Linked DNA regions of Homo sapiens: all the other regions are linked to region 3. Evidence: promoter capture Hi-C in 16 types of primary human blood cells and fetal thymus (Javierre and others, 2016). All regions are on one chromosome and are shown on one strand. Each heading gives the region's core, a stretch centred on a gene start or on the middle of the fragment in contact. The rest is flanking DNA. Distances are from core to core; before and after follow the strand shown.

Region 1 (3,551 bases), core at 787-3,286, 350 kb before region 3:
TGCAATGTAGCTGCAGCTACTCCCATGCAAAGATGATGTCTATTTCCTTGACCCCTGAATTTGGCTGAACTTGTGACATGCATTGGCCAATAGAATGCTAGGGAGGTGAACTAAGCCACTTTTGAGCTTAGTCTTCAAGGGGCCTTATGTACTTTTGCTCTTCCTCTTGGAACCATGAGAGGCATTCAAGAACAAGTCTAGGCTAGCCTGCAGGATGATGATGGGTCAGATATCCCTGTAGCCTCTGTTGACCACCTTAGCCTCAGAAATAGAGCCACCTAGCTAGGAAGCAGCATGACGGTAAACCAGTGGAGTCCAACCCAAATTGCTGACCAATCCACAGAACTATGAACTAAATAAATGGCTGTTGTTTTAAGCCACTAGGATTTGGAGTAGTGATTACATACTGAAAGCTAACTAATACACAACTTTGGGCTTGGTAATGTGATGAAGTAGGGGAAGAGTACGGAAGATGAGAGATGGAACTTGGGAAAACATGCCATCATGAATTGTGCTCTGATATAAACATGGAAGCAAAATTAAAATTGACTGCAGCACTGCAGAGCAATTCCTGTAACTGTGTGTCTCCAGGCTTCTCCCTCCTCCACCTTCTTGTATCAGTACACTGTCTTCCTCCAGCACACATAATGAACCGTATATTGTTCAATCAATCTGTCTTTTCAGATGTGTCCCTGTTTGGGTTTGTCTCAGAGATAGTAAAAAAGAAAAAAAAGAAAGAAAGACAAAAGGCTTCTGTTTCAAGCATTCTTTTTTTCTGGATGGTTTTTTGAAGTTTGTGGTCAAATTATAACTTGGTAAGAAGCTGGTGGCTCAGCAGCCTAGGCGGTGGTAGGTACTTTTAATTATTCATCAGTATTTATTTGGGAAATTTTGTTTCTTTTTTTCTAGTCTTTTAGCAGAGACTCAATTTATGCCACTCAAATCATTCCAAGGCAATTCATGATTCTTTGAAAGAAACAGGCTTTCTCTTACCCGTTTTTCTGCTCAGCATGTTTTATAAAAATTATTGAGACACTTTTGTTAGCTTAAGGTCCATCTCCCACCCTTTATTAACCAGGAGCTTTGCAGGAGACAGTGCTAATGTGAAGTGTTTTTCAACTATCCCATCAAACAAGGGTTCTGAAGGCTCCTCCCAAGAATGGGGCTCCCTGCTCCTCTTGATATCCTTATGAGAGGCCATTGTGGGAAACAGAAGCTCTGTGGAGCCTTTCATCCCATGAGTTAAGATGGGAGGCTGTGAGGAGGAAGAAAATAGGTTTGGCTTGGGAAGTGTTAAGTTAAAATGTTTGTGGGACATCTAGTATGACATGTTCGGTAAGATGGATAGGGAAAAGGAATCTTGCCTAGGGAGAGTTTAGAATAAGCAAAGAAGCCCAACGTTTGAGGATGAAGTTGGGGAAGAGGAGGCCTCAAAGCCCCAACAAAGCCCAGGCAGTCAGAGTGCAGCACTGGCATTTTCAAAGCACTCTGCCATCATTAATTGGTTAAGTTATAACAGGGCTTTGGGAATTAGATAAGTCTTTGCCCCACTTTTTCTCATTTGAAGATGTTTGTTCAGATAGATGGAGGGGGAATATCTGCCTCTCAGAAAGAGCTTTTGTGGCAGACGTGGCAAGCTATGGGTTTCCCAGTCAGACAGCCTGGGGTGGAGTCCTGGCTGCTCCTCATCGGGGATTTAACACTGGGCAAGTTACTCAGCCTCTCTGAGATGCAGATTTCTGATGTGTAAGTGGGGACTTATGCACTTTAGAGAGTTATGTGAGATTTTAAAAATGAGATTATAGGTGTATGTAAAGATGCCTAGTACACGATATACTGTATACATAACTAATGGCAACTACTGTCATTGTGAAGAATAATGCAAGGGGCTTGGATCTTCTGTTAAGATACATCATAGTTTTCTGTATTACTTAGGCAAAACCAATTTGAACCCTAGTCCTAGAGAGCTCACATTGCTGCCCCTCTTCCTGTCTCCCAATCCCATCCACAGTTCTGATGGGATAATTATTTTACCATCCACACCAGAAAATTTTTAAGTTCCATTTAACAAATTTAATGATCCCCTCCCATTTCTGACTTCTTTGCTTCGGGTAGGCGGTTTCTTCTCTCTCACCCTTGCCAAGGAACCCTTTCTCTATTCCTGATTCAGGTAATCCATTATCATGGCCTCCATTGGTTTTCTTGGTTTCCACTTCACTGTGGACAGGCCTAACTTTTAGAACTCAAAAAGTGAAGAAATCCTCTCTTCCTGGCCACTCTTTTTTTTCTTTTTCTTTGAGACAGGGTTTCACTGTCACCCAGGCTGGAGTACAGTGGAGGGATCTTGGCTTACTGCAACCTCCGCCTCCCAGGCTCAAGGGAACCTCCCACTTCAGCCTCCTGAGTAGTTGGGATTACAGGTGAATGCTACCATGTACGGCTAATTTTTGTATTTTTTGTAGAGGTAGGGTTTCATCATGTAACCCAGGCTGCTTGAACTCCTGGGCTTAAGCTATCCACCAGCCTCGGCCTCCCGAAGTGCTGGGATTAGAGGCATGAGCCACTGCTTGCAGCCCTGAAAATCATTCTTACTGCTATGAGCACATAACTTGCCTTACTGACATTGACAAGTTGTGCAAGCCTTCCCAATCTTTCCTACAGTGTGGCATGCCGAGAAAATGATAACATTTGTAGACAAACTTGGGTAACAGATGAGGTTACTTACGGATAGCGCTCTGTCCAGCTGCCCTGAGGACTGAACATTGTCCAGGGCACATTTCTAAGGTGGGCTGGGTGTTGTTGACCATGAGTAGCTTCATTCAATAGATTTTTATTCATCACTGTGCTAGCCCTAGTTATATAATGGTGGACAGAACTCATTTCCTGCCCCCCAGGAGCTGTATTCCCTTAGTACACATGTTAACAGAAATGTCGAGGTGGCAAAATATAGTAGAAAGAAATTGGTCTTTGTGGAATCTGTCAGTTTTGGGTTCAATTCTGGTTCACCCATTTGCTAGCTAATGTGAACTCGAGCAAATTACTGAACTTCTCTGATTTTTAGTTTCTTTTTCTTTTTCTTTTCTTTTCTTTTTTTTCTTTCTTTCTTTCTTTTTTTTTTTTTTTTTTTTTGAGACAGAGTCTTTCTCTGTTTCTCTGTTGCCCAGGCTGGAGTGCAGTGGCTCGATCTTAGCTCACTGCAACCTCCGCCTCCCGGATTCAAGCAATTCTCCTCCCTCAGCCTCCCAAGTAGCTGGGACTATAGACGCAAGCCACCATGCCTGGCTAATTTTTGTATTTTTAGTAGAGACGGGGTTTCACCATATTAGCCAGGCTGGTCTTGAACTCCTGACCTTAAGTGATCTGCCCGCCTTGGCCTCCCGAAGTGCTGGGATTACAGGCGTGAGCTACCGTGCTCGGCCAAATTTCTTATTTAGTAAAATGGAGGCTATAAATCTTCCTGCAGGCTTGAAGGTAGGGAAGAGGAGGAGTTTAATGAGAAATGTTAATTTTGATCCCTATTTATAAATAGGAGGATTTATCTGCAAATGACC
Region 2 (3,660 bases), core at 640-3,139, 460 kb before region 3:
CAGGCTGGAATGCAGTGGCCCATGCCTGTGACCCCAACACTTTGGGAGACTGAGGCAAGAGTATTGCTTGCGCCAGGAGTTTCAGACCAGCCTGGGCAATATAGTGAGACCCTATCTCTATTTTTTAAGAAAGTCACAAATATTGCATGTATTTAGCTGAAATCCAGATTTTACTGGGTACCCTGTATTTTATCTGGCAACCCTAAGTAAGGAGCACAAGACAGTGACCATGAATCATCAAGAAAAGCACAAACTATGTTTAGTATGCAGTTCAAAAAATGTGTAACAAACATGATATTAGAAAATATTCTGCCCGGCCATCAGAGAAATGCAAATCAAAACCACAATGAGATACCATCTCACACCAGTTAGAATGGCAATCATTAAAAAGTCAGGAAACAACAGGTGCTGGAGAGGATATGGAGAAATAGGAACACTTTTACACTGTTGGTGGGACTGTAAACTAGTTCAACCATTGTGGAAGACAGTGTGGCGATTCCTCAGGGATCTAGAACTAGAAATACCATTTGACCCAGCCATCCCATTTCTGGGTATATACCCAAAGGATTATAAGTCATGCTGCTATAAAGACACATACACACGTATGTTTATTGCAGCACCATTCACAATAGCAAAGTCTTGGAAGCAAGCCAAATGTCCAACAATGATAGACTGGATTAAGAAAATGTGGCACATATACACCTTGGAATACTATGCAGCCATAAAAAAGGATGAGTTCATGTCCTTTGTAGGGACATGGATGAAGCTGGAAACCATCATTCTTAGCAAACTATCGCAAGGACAAAAAACCAAACACCGTATGTTCTCACTCATAGGTGGGAATTGAACAGTGAGAACACTTGGACACAGGAAGGGGAACATCACACACCGGGGCCTGTTGTGGGGTGGGGGGAGGGTGGAGGGATAGCATTAGGAGATATACCTAATATAAATGACGAGTTAATGGGTGCAGCACACCAACATGGCACATGTATACATATGTAACAAGCCTGCATGTTGTGCACATGTACCCTAAAACTTAAAGTATAATTTTAAAAAATAATAATAATAATAAAAGAAAATATCCTGGCTGGGTGCAGTAGTTCACACCTGTAATCCCAGCACTTTGGGAGGCCGAGGCGGGCAGATCACCTGAGGTCGGGAGTTCGAGACCAGCCTGACGAACATGGAGAAACCCTGTCTCTACTAAAAACACAAAATTAGCCAAGCGTGGTGGCGCATGCCTGTAATCCCAGCTATTCAGGAGGCTGAGGCAGGAGAATCACTTGAACCTGGGAGGCAGAGGTTGTGGTGAGCAGAGATCATGCCATTGCACTCCAGCCTAGGCAACAAGAGCGAAACTCCATCTCAAAAAAAAAAAAAGAAAGAAAAGAAAAAGAAAATATCCCATAGAAGGTATTTAAGATTCAGATAATTTAAAGTTTCAGTTGTTTGGAAAGTTAAATACATGAAATACTTTGGACCATGCATGTTCTATTCACTGCAGAGTGCCAGCTATAAACTAAACAGTAAACATTTGATGAATAATGAAAAGCTTCACACACTATCTCCCCATTGGTGGGGGACCTCAAGCCCCTAAAGGTTGTCTCTAGCCCCGCCTCATCATTTAGTTTTAGAATTCCCTCACACCTTCTACTGCAGCTGTCTGTTCCGTTGTCTTGCTTAAGTCCAAGCCTGACTCAGAATTGGTGTCACTGTCTGTGTCAGGCTCTCGTTCCCTCTTGTGCCTTTTGTCCTGTGGTTCCATGATGCCACCACAAACCTTCTCTGATGAGGCTTTTTGAGAGAATGAGATGATGCCTGCACTTCCCCAATATTTTGGGCTTCCTCTGCAAGCCCATTGTTATAAGGGTTAGCCAGGTGCATGGTGTGAAGGAAATGATAAAAGAGGCTCAACTCTTACCCCAGGAGCAGCTTTCCTAACCCCACCCACTGATAACAAGCATCACCTTGGGACTGATTATTGGTCCCTTGCAGTCCTCAGGGCTTGTGTTAAAGTTAGGGCTTTATAGAGTACTCAAAAAATTGCTAGATTTTATCTGAAACTTGTGTGCCACAGTTTGTTATATATTGTGGCCAGATGAGTACAAGGAATTGTCCCCATCTTGTACTTAAAGGAGACAGTTCACACTCCTGGTATGGTTTGCCTCTGAGTAGTGGGGTCATGGAGTGGGTCCATGGGAATAAGACATTCCTACCTTCAAAGCTTACTTTCTATCTTACAAGCTTGTCTGAAAATTCTTTTTCAAAAGTCCCATTTATCATAATAATTTGGAAAAATAAAATACAATTTTTTTTCTGGAGAAAAAAAGTCATCCCAGTTACCATCAATCTGGAAATTAAAAGCCAGTACATCACACGATACTGTCTAGTGCATAATAAACCCTTAGTTAGCCATGTCTATTATTATCATGCTAAGGAAAACTCCAAAATCTCCCCAAGCCTTTTTGTCTATTAGATTGCCTACAGTCCAGTTACGGCTGCTGAGGTCCAGTTTCTGAGCCAGCTGCCCCCACCACATACACACCCAAGCAGAATGCTGCCAATGACTTTTATTCAATTTTGTCTTCCTCCTGGGTAGTGAGTTTAATTCTCACCTCTGACTGCCTTTCTAGGATGTTCCTTATTATCTTCTATTGTGTTTCAGAGACTTCTTACATGTCTTCGCAAAGAAGAGTGGGAGTTCAGACTCAAAACTGTCAAACTAATATTCCCAACCATTCTCCAGCTGACATTCCAATTCTAATGGAGTCTCAACTTTTAATGTTTTGGTCATGCACAATTGTCAATTTAAAAATTCACAACCCTTCTGAAAGAAAGTCCATGAGTATTCATTGAGAAGAGAATCAGCCAGCCCAATTGAATGTTCTCTGATAAGCATGCAGTACAGGAGTAGTGACTGTCAGGATTATGGCCTAATTTCCAACCTCTAAAACCTACTGTGCCTTTTAGGTTACAACAGAAGATAATAGTGATTGGGTTCATTAAATCTGTGTGTTGGCAGTTTATTTTGGAATATGAAAAGTGACGTGAAAGATGAGATTGGGGTGCACACAAAAATTATTTTGAACACCTAGAGTAGTCTTTCTTGTTTAAACAACCATGTACTGCGAGTCTGCTATGTCTAAGACACTGTTTGACAACACGGAGGCTAGCAAGATGAAGAAGACACTGCCCCTCCCTTACGCTTATAGTCTAGTGGAGGAGAAATGTACACAAATATCACTAGAGAGAGTGCAAAAGAGGGAACTCAGATAACATCTAAAGTTCCCAATCAGTGCAGTTGGGTTTTAGGGTGTGTGTCACTTTAATCCTGCCTAGATAGGTGAGTTACAGCCTAGGTTGGCAATATGTGAGGGGAATATGGCAAAACCTGCAATGACTTTTGCACCAACCTAATAAAAGTTATTGTTTACAGAGGATCCCACCATGGCCCAGGTGTGTTCTCAGCTTATCCTAATAAAAATCCTACATGGTCATAGTGTTAATCCCATTTTACTATTGAATTTGTGGCTCATGCCTAAGGTCACACAGTCTAAAATGGAGCAGAGTAGAGACTATTACTTTCTATCACAGGGGTCATGTCTTAGTTATTAGTTATCTTAGTATCTCTGTGGCCTCACAGAGGGCTTGCCACAC
Region 3 (3,537 bases), core at 635-3,134:
TGTCTTCTGCTCATGTATGGATATAATCTGAAAGTAATTTGTCTCACTTAAGAAACTATAAATGGCCTTTTATTTTTATAAAATTGCTCTTAACTGAGTTAGAGAGCGGGGGAGGGGGAGGAGTACCAGGGAAAAAAAGGACAGAGAAAAATCAATTAGTGTATCTTCCCTTGCAAACTGTCAGTAGGGTAGGATTAGAAAAGCAACACTTTAAATCACATAAAGTCCTATGGGAACCTTAAAGGTTGGTTGCTCTGAGCTTCTCAATATTCTGCAAAATAGATTGATGTCAGTGGTGACCCCACTAATACTCAGTGTCCGCTAAGCTTCCTCTAAGAAATTGCATTTCCCCCATTGTTCAAAAGATATTAACTTGGTAATAAAAATGAGGAGAAGTTATGGGACCCACAGAGATATCTTTCAACACCTTTAAAACCAGTAAATCTGTTCTAATCTCTTATTGGATTACATGCCCGAGGAGGCTTACTATATCAGGAAATCAACAACAAAGGCAAGAATAGCACTTATTTGGAGGAAAATAAAAAAAGATGGGAGGCAAAATGATTAATACGTTACTAAACATTTCTTTTGTTTTTTTATCTGTTCAATTTTAAATATCTGAGAGACAATCTATTAAAATCAGAAACATGCATGTTGCTTTTAAACTTCCAAATGACCAAATGACAGTTTCTCATGTCTATTACAGCAAACATATTTTTATTTGAGAGGTGATCCGTTTATGATTTGTAAGCCTTAACAAGAAATGTCTTTTAAAAATGCAACATTAACTTTAGTCATCTAACAGCTAGTTCTGAGTTAAACGGTTCCATCAACATTCAATTTTAGGTATTAGTTACATGGACATTTGTTTTTCCTCAAAGAGAAGTGGTTCCTGTAGCTTTTTATCAAAAGTTTATTATTTGACATACATCTCTTTATATGACATTTACTATTTTACATTAGTCAGTTTCTAGGCTTGCAGCAGAGATCGATGTATTTCCCTGGGAAGACTTAGCTGCTAACATGGTTTATAGGCATTCAGCACCAACTCAAGCGCCCGTTTTTCAAACATGCACAATTACCCATTTTCTACAAACAGACATCAGTGCATACAGAGCCAGGTGCACACACATTCAATAAATAGTAAATGGTAGAAATCTCCAGAAGTAGAACAGATCACAGTTAACAGGCTGGGGCCATACAGCTAAGTAAACACCGACGCACGATTCGCTCACACGGAATAAGAACTCCACGAAGGACACTTGGGGACCACACTGGTCGTACCCGAGGGGGCGGGAGGCGGAAAAAGTATTTCCAAACGCAACTCTGCCAGGTCTTACCCTTCGCATCCCCTGGTCCTCGGGACAGAAGCTCCCTTGGCACCTCTCGCCCAGCTCAGGGGCTGGTTGTCCGCTAGAACGAAATATCCCCCACTGACTACGGAGAGCTCTGCAGGGAGCCGAGGCCCCCGCCCGGGCCAAGGGAAGGCGCTGGCGCCGCGGGAGACAAGAAGAGGCGGAGGCGGAAAAGAAGTGGAGAAGGAAGGGGTGGCAGAGGGAGTAGCGTGCGGGAGGCGGCGCCGGCGCCGGGCTGCTGGCGAGGCGGGGTGGGGTGGAGTGGGGTGTGCCTCCGGCGGGCGGTCAGCAAGTCAGTCCGTCCGAGCGCCGGCGTCCCGGTCTCCAGCGCCCGCCCGCGACAGCGACCGGGACTGGCGCCCCGCTGCTCCGACCGCCGGCGAGCCTCGCCCCTTCCCAGGCTCTTCACTGGGTCCTCCCGCGAGCCCCGCCTGGCCCGGCGTGGGGCCGCCCGTCTCCGCCAGCCCGGGCGCCCGTCGCCTCGTCCCGCTCGCGCAGTCCCTGCCGCTCCCTCCGCTCGCGCTGTCTCTGGCTCCCTCTCGCTCCAGTCCCATTTATGAAGCGCGGTCCCATCACGTGTTAATGAGCCTTTGTCCTGCCCTGGCAGCGGCGGCGGCACAGACCCCGCCGAGGGAACTGCGCGGGGAGGGACCTGAGCGCAGCGCCCGTAGCCCCAAACTTTGCTTGGGGCGGGGGACCCGCCGCGGCGCCAGCCCTGGGGCCAGAGGGGACAAGCCTCTTCGGCCCGCGTCACCTACTTCTCCTCTTCCTCCTCCTCCTCCGCCGCCGCGCTCCCGGAGGCCCCCGCTGCCATGACCTCGCTGTGCTCCCGGATACCCTCACACCCTGACCAGGCCAAGAAGGGGCTGGTGCATGCGCCGCCCACGACCTCGGGGCCATTAATCACACGCTCCCGGGCAGCGCGCATCGCCAACACCTTCCGCGGGGGTCACGTCTGGGGCAGCGGGCTGAGCCGGAAGGGGAAGGGGAGCGGGAGCCCAGAGGCCGAGGCGCGCCGGGCCCGGGGGTGCGGTCTCGCGCCCCCTCCCTCCGCGCAAGGCCGCTCCCGTGGCAGGCGGCAGCGAGCTGGGCCCGGGGCCGGGCTGAGCTTTGGGACCGCGCTGCGCAGCCCCCGAGCCGTTCGCTACCTGGCTGCGGTCGCGCGGCCACCTGTCCTCCGCCCTCGGGGCGCCGCCCAGCTTCGCGCCAGGCGCCTTCTCCAGCGCCCGCCGCCCTTTCCCGGCGAGACCACTCGGGCGCGCCCCGCCCGCCGGTCCCCGATGCAAACAGTTGGGCTCCGTAGGCGGCTGGCTCCGCGCCTCCCGGCCCGGCGCGCCCCCTCCCCGGCCACCCGGGGCCCCGCTCCTCGCACCTTTTCGCTGGAGGAGGACGCCCCACTCCAGGGCCGGACTGGGGGCTCTGGGACTCGGGGGCGGCAGCGGCGGGCGCCTGGGGAGCCGCGGTGTGCTCAGCAGCCGCGGCAGGAATTAGGGGACATGCTCGTTAATTGTTTCCACTATCAGCCGCCGTCTGCCTCCTGTGTGCACGGATCAAACCTTAATTGGTCTTTACATTTATCATGGTGAATTGCGAACCTCCAAACAAGCCTGGGCCGCCGCTTCTGCCGAGGAGGCGCTCCCCTCCCCTCCGCCCCCGGGGCCCTGCAGGGTGTGCGGCGGCGGTCGTGGTTATTTAGACATCTTTATCTCTCGTGAGTTGGATCGGGAGAGGATCGCACGGTTTCCACCTGACGGAGCCACGTCACGTCGGCCACAAGGGCCCCGTGCTGGGCGCTGGGTTCGGTTCCCGGCCGTCCTCTTGTGGCCGCCTTGGCGTTCATTTTATGACACCTTGCCGGTGTTCCCAGACATCATCCCGCACCGCTCCGTTTTACCGACCTCCAGGTCTTCCCGCCCCTGATCAGACCCCAACAGCAACCGTACTATATCTGGACCCTATATTTGAACTACGTGGTGAGAATCTGTGAAAGCGAGCCTCTCAGGGAAAGAAGGAAGATTGTTGAGTTCAAGGTCCTGGAGGAGGGAAGGCTGTAAAACCGTTTTGGAAACGTCAGGCCAAATCGTACAAAGGCTTCCCGCAGAGCACTAGTGCAGTTTTTGAAAATCCCCCTAGACTGCTTTAGACTAGAAGTATTTCCGTCAAGCAAATGACCATTTGACTC

What was found. Contacts are between HindIII fragments. The CHiCAGO score rates a contact against its expected background, and 5 or more counts as called.
Region 1: a fragment that was not itself captured here is called in contact with the fragment with the promoter of CNR1 in region 3 in 1 of 17 cell types (naive B cells); the score reaches 5.5 in naive B cells.
Region 2: a contact is called between a fragment that was not itself captured here and the fragment with the promoter of CNR1 in region 3, in 1 of 17 cell types (total B cells). The highest score is 5.0, in total B cells.

Annotation. Positions count from the first base shown.
Region 1 is chr6:87,817,857-87,821,407 of GRCh38, forward strand. All of the region lies in intron 2 of LOC101928911 (a long non-coding RNA gene), which reads left to right. Among named protein-coding and RNA genes, the nearest start is that of AKIRIN2, 120 kb to the left of the region's middle. The HindIII fragment of the contact is 4,947 bases long and covers 1-3,551 here.
Region 2 is chr6:87,708,517-87,712,176 of GRCh38, forward strand. No RefSeq gene overlaps it. Among named protein-coding and RNA genes, the nearest start is that of AKIRIN2, 8.1 kb to the left of the region's middle. RefSeq lists an enhancer at 1,686-1,825. The HindIII fragment of the contact is 672 bases long and covers 1,554-2,225 here.
Region 3 is chr6:88,164,463-88,167,999 of GRCh38, forward strand. It overlaps CNR1 (cannabinoid receptor 1), which reads right to left and starts at 1,885. Exons shown (of 2, transcript NM_016083.6): 1 at 1,341-1,885. RefSeq lists silencers at 1,562-2,241, 2,302-2,741, 2,812-3,011. The HindIII fragment of the contact is 6,129 bases long and covers 325-3,537 here.